Regions from separate parts of the Homo sapiens genome. Here region 1 is linked to region 2. Evidence: promoter capture Hi-C in human tissues and cell types (Jung and others, 2019). All regions are on one chromosome and are shown on one strand. Each heading gives the region's core, a stretch centred on a gene start or on the middle of the fragment in contact. The rest is flanking DNA. Distances are from core to core; before and after follow the strand shown.

Region 1 (7,477 bases), core at 4,661-7,160, 110 kb before region 2:
GGTGTATGCCTGTAGTCCCAGCTACCTGGAGGCTAAGCTGGGAGGATCGCCTGAGCCCAGGAGGTTAAGGCTATAGTGAGTAGTGATCATGCCTCTGCACTCTGGCCTGGGCAATAAAGTGAGACATGGTCTAAAAAAAAACTAAGAAAAACAAAACCAAAAAGAAAACAACCCTTCCCCTCCAGCCCCAAACTCCTCCAGGAGGCATTTAAAAAACCTCACTAAGTAGCGACACTATTATCTATATCCATAAAGCTACATAATTCATATAATGTGGTACTGTTACTACTATAGGCAGACAATTTAAACAGAAGAGAGAATCCAGAAACAAAGCCTAGCAAATAAAAAGCTGTCATTTTAAATCAGTAGGGAAAAGAGAATTACTGCATAAAAGGTACCAGAAAAACAGTTAACTATGTAGGAAAAAAACAGAAGTTATCTTTAATCCATTTGGAATGTATCTGTTGTATGAAACAAAGAAGCATTGGCAGGGCCAAGTGTGGTGGCTCACGCCTGTAATCTCAGCACTTCGGGAGGCCAAGGCGGGTGGATAATAAGGTCAGGAGTTCAAGACCAGCCTGGCCAACATGGTGAAACCCCGTCTCCACTAAAAATACAGAAATTAACTGTGCTTAGTGGCGGGCACCTGTAATCCCAACTACTCGGGAGGCTGAGGCAGACAACTGCTTGAACCCAGGAGGTGGAGGTTGTAGTGCGTCAAGATCACGCCACTGCACTTCAGCCTGGGCAACAGAGCGAGACTCTGTATCAAAATAAAAAAAAAAAGCATTAGTGGCCAGGTACAGAGACTTACGCCTGTAATTCAAACACTGAGAGGCCAAGGCCAGCAGATCGCTTGAGCCCAGGAGTTCGAGATTGGCTTGGGAAACATGGAGATACTCCATCAATACTAAAAATACAAAAAGTCAGCTGGGCATGGTGGTGTGCGCCTGGGGTCTCAGCTATTCAGGAGGCTGAGGTGGGAGGATCTCCTGAACCTGGGGAGGTTGAGGCTGCAGTGAGCCATGATTGTGCCATTGTACTCCAGCCTGGGCGGCAGAGTGAGACCCTGTCTCAAAATGAAACAAAACAAACAAAAACACACACAAAACTTTAAAAAGAAAAAGGTGAACAGCTTTCTAAAAATGAGGAAGGCTTTGTGCTTAGAAGCCTAAGTAATAAGAGAAATCAGAGGAAATGATTGAGATTTTAAGCACCATAAAATAAAATTAAAAATTCCAGGCTGGGCACAGTGGCTCACACCTGTAATCCCAGCACTTTGGGAGGCCAAGGTGGGTGGATTCCCTGAGGTCAGGAGTTGAGACCAGTCTGGCCAACACGGTGAAACCCCATCTCTACTAAAAATACAAAAAAATTAGCCAGGTATGGTGGCATGTGCCTGTAATCCCAGCTACTCAGGGAGGCTAAGCCAGGGAAATTGCTTGAACCAGGGAGGTGGAGGTTGCAGTGAGCCGAGATCGTGCCACTGCATTCCAGCCTGGGTGACAGGGCGAGACTCTGTCTCTAAATAAATAAATAAAATAAAATAAAATAAAAATAAAATTATGTATGACAAAAACATGTTGAACAAAAACTAAAAAGAAAATGGCCAACCATGAAAAAAATATCTGCAACATCTATGACAATGGATTAACCTCTTTATCATATGTATAACTGTAAAATTTACAATGAAAAGATGAACACTGAAAGAAAAAGCTGGGCAAAGGACACAAATAGATGACTGAAAATACACAAATGGCAGATGAATAAGAAAAAAACCAAACCTCATTAATAGTAAAAGAAATGCTAAACTAAAATAATGTGACAGCATTTGCCTCTGTTAAACTGCTATGGTTGTTTTGAAAGATACTCCCCAGACTGGGCATGGTGGCTCATGCCTGTAATCCCAGCACTTTGGGAGGCCAAGGCGGGCAGATCACGAGGTCAGGAGATCGAGACCATCCTGACCAACATGGTGAATCTCCGTCTCTACTAAAAATACAAAAATTAGCTGGGCATGGCGGCGTGCACCTATAGACCCAGCTACTCGGGAGGCTGAGGCAGGAGAATTGCTTGAACCCAGGAGGTGGAGGTTGCAGTGAGCCGAAAGTATGCCACTGCACTCCAGCCTGGCTACAGAGAGAGACTCTGTCTCAAAAAAAAAGAAAAGAAAGAGGAAAAGAAAAAAAAAGAAAGATACTCCCCAATGTTGTCCTTGGTGCAGTGAAACTAGCACAATTCTACTGAAGGTAATTGGTGGTGTGAATCGTAGACATCAAAAATAGTGCTTTAATACATAATATGGAGAAAATGTTTGTTCTATATTTAAAAAGGGAGGGCGGACAGGAGAGGCAGAATGGAATCACTGTTAAGAGTCAGAGACGTGCATCCCAATTCTGGTTTTTCTAATTAGCATTGTGACCTGGGGTGAGATATGCTACCTTCTCGCTGCAGTTTTCTTTTCTATAAAATAAGGAAATGGTACCCATTTCACAGGCTATCATAAAAACCCAATGAAACAATACATGCATGGTGCCAACTGCCATCCTCTGTATCCTTATACCGCCAGCCAAGAAGACATTCAACATGGTTAACTCAACAATATATGCTTTTTTGGCTTCTTAGCTTTCTAATTAGATTCCTAGAATCTAATCTTATCTAAACCTTTGATAAATTTTCCCCACAAAAATGACTTCTCTGATAAAGTACTGGATTTCTGTACGATGAAGGTACAATCAGTTGACAGAAGCTGGTGACTGACTAAATCCAGGAATGAAGGAGAAAGAGTAAAAAAGAAACAGAACAAGCCAGACATGGTGGTTTGTACCTATAGTTCCAGCTACTTGAGAAGCTGAAGCAGGAGGATGGCTTGGGCCCAGAAGTTTGAGGTGAGTCAAAGGAAGGGTGGGGGAGGGTGGTAGGAAGAGACAGAACAGCTTTGCAGGCTGGCCAGTCTTGTTCTATCCAGAATATTGACGCCACATTAAACCTTCCTGAAATGAGGCTCAAAAATTCCAAAAATTCATGATTGGTGATGCTGACTGAATCAGGTCCAAATTCTCCATCTTAGCTCCCAGAGCTCTGTACAGTTTGTTCCCATTCCCTTCCACCCACCCAACCTCACCTTTGACTATTTCCTGCTGGGCATCTTCTATATCAGTATCTGATGTCTTGTCCCTTCCCAGCTCAAGTCACCTTCTAAATCAAAGTCATCTCAACCTTGACCAGTACAAACTGACCACAAGTTTTAACTGTAGCATAATGTTCTATGTGTTTTTCCCCCAGTATTAGCTTTTTAAGGGCAGTAACTATGCCTTTTGTTTCTGTAGTCTCTACAGCAATGGATACAAAACAGTGTTAGACAAACAGGAATTCTCACTGACTTTGTCAGATGAAACAGGTATAGATGGTTCCTGCACAGGACAAGAGCAGGAAGGGAACATGGAAAAACAAAACACTGTTTATATGCTAAGTGAAAGCCTAAGTATACGAATTTACCTTTATTGCTCTCTTTGCATCACTATTTTTTTAGTGATGCGAAGTTTTTTTACGCATCACTATTTTTTTAGTGATGCAAAGTTTAGAAACTTTGAAAGACAAAGTTTCATTATGTTGCCCAGGCTGTTCTCGAACCCCTGGGCTCAAGGGATCCTCCCACTTCATCCCCCACAAAATGCTGAGAATATAGGCATGAGCCACTGCAACTAGCCTGTGTCAATTCTTACACCTTTTTTTTTTTTTTTTGAGACAGGGTCCCACCCTGTCGCTCAGGCTGGAGTGCAGTGGCACAATCAAGGCTCACTACAGCCTTGACATCCTGGGTTCAAGTGATCCTCCTACCTCAGCCTCCCAAGTAGCTGGGACTACAAGCATGTGCCACCATACTTGGTTCATTTTATTTTACAGAGATGGGATCTCACTGTATTGCCTAGGCTGGTCTCCTAAGCTCAAGTGGCCTCCCAAAGTGCTGGGATTACAGGCATAAACCACCATGCTCAGCCTGTGTCACTTCTTAATAGAGAAAAATAAAAATTCCCAAAAACACAATTACAGGTTAGATTTTTTAAAATCCTGCCATGTAAAAATGGAAGCTAATTGTGAATACACTAATTTTTGAAGATATTAAGGTTTAGTAATTTATCACCTATGATTATGACTACATAGCAAATATGTCAGACAATTTCCAAAGGAAAACAACCAAAACAACCTTTTATACTCACCACTGCAGAGTTTAGTCAGTTAAGTAGACTGGTTATTATACTAGGAATAATCCATGTGTACTGAGAATAAGACAGTAGAAGAGAATGATTTCCAGCAGTCTATTTTATAACTAAACCCACAACTTTTTAATATACTGCTTACTATCCATTATAAGGGGCAACTGATTGCTAAAAACCCCAACTTATTTCCTGGGGAGATCAGAAGTCTATCTGCATTCTCTTGGTAAGAAATACATTAGCAGCTCTAAGACCCCATGAACTTTCACAAGCCACAGAAATTCTGAAAGTCAACATGAAGGGTACCTAACAAATGGCCTAACAGAGGTTGATACGAACCCTCAGACATCATAAGAAGGCAGAGAACGCACAGCCATAAAAAAGAATGAAATAATGTCCTTTACAGCAACACAGATGCAGCTGGAGGTCATTATCCTAAGCGAATTAAGGCAGGAACAGAAAACCAAGTATCTCATGTTCTCACTTACAAGTGGAAGCTACACACTGGGTACACATGGACATAAACATAACAATAGGCCTTAGGGATTAGGAGGGGGAGGGAGAAAACGGGGTAAGGGCTGCAAAACTAATCATTGGGTACTATGCTCATTACCTGGGTGATGAGCAACAATTGTACCCCCAAACCTCATAATCACACAATATACCCATGTACACAAAAAAACTTGGACATGTACCCCCGAATCTAAAATAAAAGTTGAAATTGTAAAAAATTTTAAGAGAACAGAAGATACCTTGCACCTTTCTCTTTATATGTATAAAATATATATTAAAAACCATATATTAAAATATAAAAAAGATATACAAATATATAAATATAAAATATATATTAAACATTTATACATATATATATAAATTTTTTTTTTCCAGATGGAGTTTCACTCTGTCACCCAGGCTGGAATGCAGTGGCGCGATCTCGGCTCACTGCAACCCCTGCCTCCAGGTTCAACCGATTCTCCTGCCTCAGCCTCCTAAGTAGCTGGGACTACAGGCACATGCCACTGTGCCCCGCTAATTTTTGTATTTTTAGTAGAGACGGGGTTTCACCATGTTGGCCAGGCTGGTCTCAAACTCCTGAGCTCAAGTGATCCACCCACCTCGGCCTCCCAAAGTGCTGAGATTACTGACGTTGAGCCAGTCACCAACGCCTGGCCTCTGTAAGTATCTTTTTTTGATGTTGTTGTTTTTGAGACGGAGTCTCACTCTGTCACCCAGGCTGCAGTGCAGTGGCACGATCTTGGCTCACTGCGACTTCCGCCTCCTGGGCTCAAATAATTCTAATGTCTCAGCCTCCCGAGTGGCTGGGACTACAGGCGCATGCCACCATGCCGGCTAATTTTTATATTTTTAGTAGAGACAGGGTTTCACCATACTGGTCAGGATGGTCTCAAACTTCTGAGCTCTGGTGATCCTCCCACCTCAGCCTCCTAAATTACTGGGATTACAGGCATGAGCCACTGTGCCTGGCCTTATTTATTTTTTTAGACAGATTCTTGCTCTGCCACCCAGGCTGGAGCGCAGTGGCACAATCCCGGCCACTGCAACCTCTGCCTCCAGGGTTCAAGCAATTCTCCTGCCTCAGCCTCCTGAGCAGCTGGGATCACAGGCGTACACCACTATGCCCAGCAAATTTTTGTATTTTTAGTAGAGACAGGGTTTCACTATGTTGGCCAGGCTGGTCTCAAACTCCTGACCTCAGGTGATGTGCCCGCCTCATCCTCCCAAAGTGCTGGGTTTACAGGTGTGAGCCACTGCGTCCAGTCGATAGATCTTTACATTAGAAAAATGTTGACTGAAAAGCTTAGTCTGGTATTCTCACTATACAGAATGTTAAATGACATTAGGACAAGGAGGGGAAAAAAAGCAATTATAAGTCATCAGGTCGGGCACAGTGGCTCACACATATAATCCCAGTACTTGGGGAGGCAGAGCCAAGAGAATCGTTTGAGCCCAGGAGTTCAAGACCAGCCTGAGCAACATAGTGAGACCTTGTCTCCATTAAAAATTAAAAAAAAAATTAGCTAGGTATGATGGCATCCATCTGTAGTCCCAGCTACTCGGGACTGAGGCGGGAGGATCGCCTGAGCCCAGGCTGCAGTAAGCTATCATCACACCACTGCATTCCAGTCTGAGTGACAGCGCAAGACTCTGTGCCCTTACTGCCCCCCCCCAAAAAAAGTAATCAGTTTTTCCTGAGGATGAAAGGAAAAGCTAAGTAACTTTTACTAGATGCAGGACACTAGCCAAAACGAATAAAAGTTATTAACTCTTTTAGAGTAAAAGCTAGGTTTAAAAGTTAAACAAAATAACCATTTTACTCTGCTATTCCTGAAAACATATACGCCATCATCTTATCTGAGAGCTTAAAATACATCAAAGCAAAGTATCAGTGAACTAGTACCAGGAAAGTTGTAGACTACAATAAAGAATGAGGAGGAGTTGAATTGGGAGAATAACTTGGGCTGAGAAGCAGAAAAATAATAGTGACCATTTCTTTCACAGTGACTGGGAACGGAAGCAGCCTTTATCTGAAAAAGCACTCATCTATTTAATCACAACTGTACCTCTCACTTCTCTGACATTAATTTTCATTTATTTTTTGAGACAGAGTCTCGCTCTGTCACCCAGGCTGGAGTGCAGTGGTGAGATCTTGGCTCACTGCAATCTCTGCCTCCTGTGTTCAAGCAATTCTCAGCCTCAGCCTCCTGAGTAGCTGGGATTACAGGCACGCATCACCACGACTAGCTAATTTTTGTATTTTTCGTAGAGATGGGGTTTCATCATGTTGGCTAGGCTAGTCTCAAACTCCTGACCTCAAGTGATCTGCCCGCCTCGGCCTCCCAAAGTGCTGGGATTACGGTGGCTCACGCCTGTAATCACAGCATTTGTGTGAGCCACCCAGTCCAGCATTTTTTTTTTTTTTTTTTTTTTTGAGACAGAGTCTCACTCTGTCATCCAGGCTGGAGTGCAATGGTGCCATCTCAGCTTACTGCAACCTCCACCTCCCGGGTTCAAGCGATTCTCCCGCCTCAGCCTCCCAAGTAGCTGGGATTGATTACAGGCACCAAACATCATGTCCGGCTAATATTTGTATTTTTAGTAGAGACAGGGTTTCGCCATGTTGGCCACGCTGGGCTTGAGCTTCTGACCTCAGCTGATCCACCCTCCTCAGCCTCCCAAAGTGCTAGGATTACAGGTGTGAGCCATCACACCTGGCCGATCACCGTGCTCGGCCAATTTTT
Region 2 (7,545 bases), core at 3,182-5,681:
AGTAGTTTATTCTCTTGTCATTGCTGTATAGTTGTCAATTATATAAACATACTTTTGTTTGTTTGTTTGAGATAGGGTCTCACTCTGTCACCCATGCTGGAGTGCAGTGGTGCAATCTTGGTTCACTGCAACCTCTGCCTCCTGGATTCAAGTGATCCTCCCACCTCAGCCTCTCGAGAAGCTGGGACTACAGGCTTGCGCCACCATGTCTAGCTAATTTTTGTAATTTTTGAAGAGACAGGGTTTTGTCATGTTGCTCAGGCTGGTCTGGAACTCCTGAGCTCAAGTGATCCACTCGTCTCGGCCTTCCAAAGTGCCAGGATTACAGGTGTGAGCCACTGTGCCTGGCCCAATTATATCACTATAATGTTATTATCCATTTTGCTGTTGATGGATATTTGGATTGTTTCCAGTTTTCTTTCTTTTTTAAAATTTTTTATTTTTTTAAGACAAGGTCTCATGTGCATAAGCTGGAATGCAGTAGTGTGATCATGGCTCACTACAGCTTTAACCTCCTGGGATCAAGCGATCCTCCCCACCTCAGCCTCTGGAGTCACTGGGACCACTGATGTGCACCACTGTGTCTGGCTATTTTTAAATTTTTTTGTAGAGATTGGGTCTCTGTATGTTACCCAGGCTGGTCTCAAACTCCTGGGCTCAAGACAGTCTCCCACCTCGGCTTCCCAAAGTGGTGGGATTACAGGCATGAGCCACGGCACCAACTTTCTCTATCTTTTTGTTTTATTCCAACCCTCAAAGGATTGGATGATTCTGGAAACACCCTCACAGGCACACCTAGAAATAATATTTAACCAGATATCTGGGCATTCCTGGCCCAGTCAAGTTGACACACAAAATTAACAATCACAGATCCTCTCTAGCTCAGGGCTCAATACACCAGCCCGAGAGAACCCCCATCCATCTTCTCCTCTCCCTGAATGACTGAGGAGACCGTGCCTCTCCAGGCAACCTCTGCCTTAGGAAATCCTACAGATGATTCACAGGAAACACATGGCTGTGCTCTCTGGGGCAGGGGCAATGGGCTGGGTAGGGGTTTCAAAATCAACCCTGATTGACAGAGCCACGGGTGCTTGCAGTTTTTCCCTGCACCCCCCACCCTCTCCCCTGGACAAGGTGGGAACAGGGCCCTTGAAGGGGAGTACACTGCAGGAGGAAAAAGAAGAGAAGGGAGAGGGTTTGAGCACCCCTCTCTGTCCTCATGTGGTCTCTGGAACGAGCATGCACACTCTCCCCTTTCTCCTCCCTGCACAGAGTCCCTGTGTTCCGGGCCCACACCCTCACTTAGGAGGCTCTGCCTCCCCCAGGGTTTCCCAAATCCTCCTCCCAGAACATGCCACATATTTCTGAAGGTCCTTTTGCCAACAAGCATTGTCCTGGGAATATCAGGCTGGTTCCTTACCGTAAAATTACCCACATAGTGAAACTTTTTTTTTTTTGAGATGGAGTCTCACTCTGTTACCAGGCTGGAGTGTTACCAGGCTGGAGTGCAGTGGCACGATCTCAGCTAACTGCAACCTCCGCCTCCTGGGTCCCAGTTCAAGTAAATCTCCTGCCTCAGCCTCCCAAGTATCTAGGATCATAGGTGCGTGCCACCATGCCCAGCTAATTTTTGTATTTTTAGTAGAGATGGGGCTTCACCATGTTGGCCAGGCTGGTCTTGAACTCCTGACCTCATGATCTGCCCACCTTGGCCTCCCAAAATGCTGGGATTACAGGCGTGAGCCACTGCATCCGGCTGTGAAACTTTTTTTTTTTTTTTTGAGAGAGTCTCGCTCAGTCACCCAGGCTGGAGTGCAGTGGCGCGATCTCGGCTCACCGCAAGCTCTGCCTCCTGGGTTCACACCATTCTCCTGCCTCAGCCTCCCAAGTAGCTGTGATTACAGGTGCCCGCTATGACGCCCGGCTAAATTTTTTTTTTTTTTGTATTTTTAGTAGAGATGGGGTTTTGCTGTGCTAGGCAGGATAGTCTCCATCTCCTGACCTTGTGATCTGCCCACCTCGGCCTCCCAAAGTGCTGGGATTACAGGCGTGAGCCACCGCACCTGGCCTTTTTTTTTTTTTTTTTTAATGGGGACTGGGTTTCGCCATGTTGCCCAGGCTGGCCTCGAATTCCTAGGCTCAAGTGATCTGCCTGCCTCAGCCTCCCAAAGTGCTGGGATTATAGGCGTGAGCCACCACCACCATGGCTCACTGCAGCCTCAATCTCCTGGGCCGAAGCTATCCTCCTCCCTGTCTCCTGAGTAGCTGGGACTACAGGTGTGCATCACCACATTCAGCTAATTAAATTTTTTTTTTTTGGTAGAGACAGAGTCTCACTATGTTGCCACTCCTGGGCTCAAGAAGGTGTGAATCACTACACCTGGCCGTTTTTTTTTTTTTGTTTAGTTTTGTTTTTGTTTTTTGAGACGGCAACTTGCTTTGTCGCCCAGGCTGGAGTGCAGTAGCGCGATCACAGCTCATTGCATTTTGGCGCTGGGTTTTCTTGATATCTCCCCCACTGGACCTGACCGGGGCATGGGCTGCCCTGTGAGTGCCTCAGCCCTCGTCCATCACTGCCCATGGGGCTGATACACCTGTGTGCACACACTCAGGTGAAGACAGCTGCTGCCCGTAGGTGAGGTAAGACACTGAGCACCTGTGTGGGAGGAGATCTTCCACTCCCACTCTGTCCACACCAGACCATGAAGAGCTCTCCATAGCATGGGTGCTGACCAGGCCCAGCCTGGGTGACAGAGTGAGACCCTGACTCAAAGAAAAAGACATAATGAGGTGTGATTTTAATTTCTTGGATGTCCCAGTATATATAAATGTTGGGAGTATGGATTGCTTCATTTCATTTTAAATAGCATTTTTTTTTTAAGATGGAGTCTCACTCTGTCACCCAGGTTGGAGTGCAGTGGTGCGATCTCTGCTCACTGCAGTCTCTGCCTCCCGTGTTACAAGTGATTCTCCTGCCTCAGCCTCCCGGGTAGGTGGGATTACAGGCATGTGCCACCATGCCTGAATAACTTTTGTATTTTTAGTAGAGATAGGGTTTCACCATATTGGCCAAGCTGGTTTGAACTCCTGACCTCCAGTGATCCGCCCACCTTGGCCTCCCAAAATGCTGGGATTACAGGCGTGAGCCACCGTGCCTGGCCACCCTTTATCTTCTTTTCTTTTTGAGACAGGATCTTGCTCTGTCGCTCAGCCTGGAGTGTGGTGATGCAGTCATAGCTCACTGCACTCTTGAATCCCTGTGCTCAAGCCATCCTCCCACCTCAGCCTCTACTACAGGCATGCACCACTACACCCAGCTATTTTTTTATTTTTTGTAGCAACGGGGTCTCACCATGATACCCAGGCTGGTCTTAAACCCCTGGCCTTGTGATCCTCCCACCTTGGCCTCTCAAAATGCTGGAATTACAGGTGTGAGCCACCATACCTGGCCCCCTTCATCTTTTTTCCACTGCCTTGTGCCAACCCAGTTTGTGCACTGGGGCCTTGCGATCCTCTCAAAGCTGATTCAGCCTGCATTCCTTTCCCAGATGGACACGTGTGTGATAAACAGCTCTGCAGTGGGGTGAGGGAAGGCAGGGGCAGCAGGGTCCTGTATGTCCTGCCATCTCCACAAAAGGGCAGTCCTTACCCCAGCCTTGTGCTGATGAGACCAGGCATAGACAGTCCTGACGACACAGGGCGGAAGGGAGCAGCCATTAGTGCTAATGAGGCAGGCGGCCTGAAAGCTTTGTACTCTGCAGTGGCTCGCCCACCCAGGGAACAGTTCGTTCTGTTTCCTTGGCTTCCAGGAACCCTAGGCAGAAAGGGGTTTGGGGACAGGAGCAGGAGTGGGCGGTCTTGGAGAAACCTGGAGGGAGAAAGGGAGGGGAGGACCAGAAATGTAGTCAGGAGGGCCTAGGATTGGTTAGGTGGGCTTTTCCTTCCCCTTTCCCTCCAAAGAAACCCAGGTTCTGGTTCTGCACCTACCCCTGCCCAACAGTGGCCATTGGCCCATCACCCGCTCCAATGTCCTTGACCCGAATTCTTGGAAGCACAGGAAACAACATGCCACATAGGGGTTGAGTAAGCATCTCTGGGGCCACAAATTAAATTAAGCTTTCAGGGCCGCCTGCCTTGTTATTGCTAATGGTTCTAGCCCTGCTCAGCTCCTAGGTCCCTGTCCTGTGGAAATTTGTGGACCCTGGGCACCCTCTCTTGCTCCCAAATTTTAATCGGCTCCTGGAAACCTCACCCCAAATTGGAGATAGGCACTCCTCTTGTAGAACAAAAGGCTCAGGTTCAGGGAGTGAGGGCCTGAACTGTGCCCCCACCCTCCAGGAAGGGTCCTTCACGGCCTGGCTGCAGGGATCAGTCACGTGTGGCCCTTCATTAGGCCCTGCCATATAAGCCAAGGGCACGGGGTGGCCGGGAACTCTCTAGGCAAGAATCCCGGAGGCAGAGGTGAGTCCTCAGGTTGGGCAGGGACTCCTCCTCTCTGTGGGGTCTCTATCTGGGCACCTAGAGGGGACTCCAAGGATAAGGAGGGACTAAGTGGTACATCTTCCTGCTGAGCCAGGCCATGCTGACCGCAGCGGTGCTGAGCTGTGCCCTGCTGCTGGCACTGCCTGCCACGCGAGGAGCCCAGATGGGCTTGGCCCCCATGGAGGGCATCAGAAGGCCTGACCAGGCCCTGCTCCCAGAGCTCCCAGGTCAGTGTGAGCAAGGGTGGGACTGGGCGGGGCCTGAATACCCTCTGGCCACAAATAGTCTCCCCTGGCATAAACCCTCTTTCTCCCTTCCCAAACCCTCCCCTGGGAGGTGGGTGCTTTGTGCATGGGGGTTCCTGCCCTCACATCCTCTGCCCCAGGCCTGGGCCTGCGGGCCCCACTGAAGAAGACAACTGCAGAACAGGCAGAAGAGGATCTGTTGCAGGAGGCTCAGGCCTTGGCAGAGGTAACTGCTCAGGGAAAAGGGTAAGGTGGTGGCCCTTGGGAGGGGGCATTGGGTATTAGCTCCTCTCCCCAGCTCCAAACTCCCTCACCAGCGACGACACTACCGACCACCCCTTCCCATGCTCCACTGCCATCCTGCACAGGTTGGGACAGGTAAGATCCCTGGATCTGTCTTTAGAGGCCTGTGCTGGTTCCCCACCCCTGCAGGTACTAGACCTGCAGGACCGCGAGCCCCGCTCCTCACGTCGCTGCGTAAGGCTGCATGAGTCCTGCCTGGGACAGCAGGTGCCTTGCTGTGACCCATGTGCCACGTGCTACTGCCGCTTCTTCAATGCCTTCTGCTACTGCCGCAAGCTGGGTACTGCCATGAATCCCTGCAGCCGCACCTAGCTGGCCAACGTCAGGGTCGGGGCTAGGGTAGGGGCAAGGAAACTCGAATAAAGGATGGGACCAACCCCAAGGCTGTGGTTATTTCAAACGTGGCCGTCAAAGGAGGGAGGGTTCATGGAGGGGGTGGGAGTGTCACCAAGCCAAGAAACCACACATACTCTTATCCCAGGGCCTGGGCTACCCTATCATAGGAGGCACATACACGGGCGCTTTTAGGGGTCCTGGTGCCCCTGGGAAAAATAGAGAAGAGCCGCACTCCAGCTTTCGAAAATCTTGTACAGCAAGTGCGGGGAACGCAGGACGCAGCGTGGCACAGGGGCTATCACTCCTGGCTAACAAATAAGCCTTAGGCTCCAGGGCTTGCTGCTACTTCCACGCAAAGCCTGCCCCTCATCCTGTTACCAGAGGGAAGGCCAGGAGTGTGCGTTGTTCAGGTCCTTAGCGTTTCGAACAAAGAATTGAACAAAACCCAGAAAGTAACAAACGAATGACACACAGGAAGGAAGCAGACAGCTGGGATTTGTTAAAGCGAGAAAGCACTACGCAGGGTGGGAGTGGGCCTGAGCAAGAGGCTGAAGGGGCTCAGTTACAAAGTTTTCCGGGTTTTAAGTACTCCTTTTGCGGTCCCTGTCCGTTACCCCTTATCTGGATGAAGGGTTTGGTCCATGGCTAATTAATCCATTTATGCCTGAGGTTGCAATCTTTTTGAATTTTTGCAATCAGACCTTGGCCATGACCTTGAGCAGTAGGATATAAATAACTCCCATATGCTTAGCGTTCCAATAATGGAACACAAGGCATAAATGGGGCTAAGGTGAATTGGCGCCCTATGCAGATGAAGGGATGGCCCGTGCTTGGCCCGCAGCCAATCCAAGGCACTCTCCCTTTCAACTGAGACGTGGTGGAAGGGGGAGGGTTGTGGGGACAGTGGCCTTTGATCCTTTGTTACTTGGACATGGGGAGATGGGGTTTTTCTTTTTGGTTTAGCTTTAGTAAGCTCGCCTTAGTTGGCCTCCGGTTCCCTGCCCCCAGACCTTGGTGTTTTCCCTTGATTCAGCTTCAGAATTCAGCACGTATTGGCCTCAAGTTCCCCGCCTCCAGACCCTATTCTCCTACCTCAATCGGACCTCAGTTTCCCTCTGGGGAGGAGGCTGGCCCAGCAGTCTGGAAACTTTCCAAGCTTGAGAAGGGCTCGCTCCCTTCTTTACCCCGCCCGCCCTGCAGCGTCAAGTGCAGCAAACCGGGGAAAGCTAGAGAAGGCCCAGTCAAATCCCTGCGGCCACAGGCGCCACCAAGCGGCCGGCCTCAAACTTCCTCTTTTTAGCGCGCAGGCGCCGCAGGGCCAGCCCACGCCTGCACCGCGCTTCCGCGCAGCCACCCGGAAGCCGGGCACCGCTCAGAGCCACGCCCCCTTATGGTCACGTGAGGCGCTTGCGCGTCACCTGACGCACTTGACAGCCCGCTGAGGACGCAGCGTCAGCTGACCTGGGGAGTCGCGATTCGTGCCGGCCGGTCCTGGTTCTCCGGTCCCGCCGCTCCCGCAGCAGCCATGTCGTTCTTCCCGGAGCTTTACTTTAACGTGGACAATGGCTACTTGGAGGGACTGGTGCGCGGCCTGAAGGCCGGGGTGCTCAGCCAGGCCGACTACCTCAACCTGGTGCAGTGCGAGACGCTAGAGGGTGAGCCGGGGCCGCGAAAGGCGGGGATAGAGGCTGTCCGGGGCCTGAGGGTTCAGAGGTGTAGGCCGGGAAGCCGGAAGGGGGGGTCTTGAAGGGCCTGAGAGGCCTCTCTGGGAATCCTGGGGCTGATAGCGGACGCGCAGGAGCGGGATCTACCTCTAGCTGTGGCTCGGCGCGGGCCCAAACTCAAACAAGGCTTTAAGAACCGCAGTTGTTCGCCTCTGCTTGGGCCACCTTTTCTCTCGCTGTGCTCACCCTGCAGTTTGGGAGGAGGGGGTGTTTCGGGGGTAGTTGGTCGGTGCGAGGTGTGGCCATACAAACCTCTTTACCCTGACGTAGCCCGAGAGCTGTCGCGTAGCAACCCTTAGGGAAGCTAAGCGGAAAAGTCCCCCACCTCTTCCCCCTCCCCCCGCCAAGACACTAAGGTCTTTGGGATCATCGTGTCTTCGCGTTGGCCTGCGGGGTGAGCCTTCCTGGGGAATTGCTGAGCCAGTTTATCGAGGGTTTTCTCCCAACTCTGAACT

Evidence for each region. Contacts are between HindIII fragments. The study calls those that stand out against the background at their distance.
Region 1: a contact is called between a fragment that was not itself captured here and the fragment with the promoter of AGRP in region 2, in 2 of the 25 tissues and cell types used here (bladder and spleen).

Annotation. Positions count from the first base shown.
Region 1 is chr16:67,590,651-67,598,127 of GRCh38, reverse strand. All of the region lies in intron 2 of CTCF (CCCTC-binding factor), which reads right to left. Among named protein-coding and RNA genes, the nearest start is that of CTCF, 32 kb to the right of the region's middle. The HindIII fragment of the contact is 6,285 bases long and covers 2,768-7,477 here.
Region 2 is chr16:67,480,433-67,487,977 of GRCh38, reverse strand. AGRP (agouti related neuropeptide) reads left to right here and starts at 4,431. Exons shown (of 4, transcript NM_001138.2): 1 at 4,431-4,461; 2 at 4,577-4,709; 3 at 4,868-4,953; 4 at 5,160-5,407. The coding sequence starts at 4,580. The coding sequence ends at 5,342. ATP6V0D1-DT (ATP6V0D1 divergent transcript) reads right to left here and starts at 6,584. Exons shown (of 4, transcript NR_184227.1): 1 at 6,459-6,584; 2 at 3,650-3,868. ATP6V0D1 (ATPase H+ transporting V0 subunit d1) reads left to right here and starts at 6,821. Exons shown (of 8, transcript NM_004691.5): 1 at 6,821-7,021. The coding sequence starts at 6,892. RefSeq lists a silencer at 6,541-6,710 and enhancers at 6,821-6,870, 7,031-7,270. The HindIII fragment of the contact is 1,388 bases long and covers 3,932-5,319 here.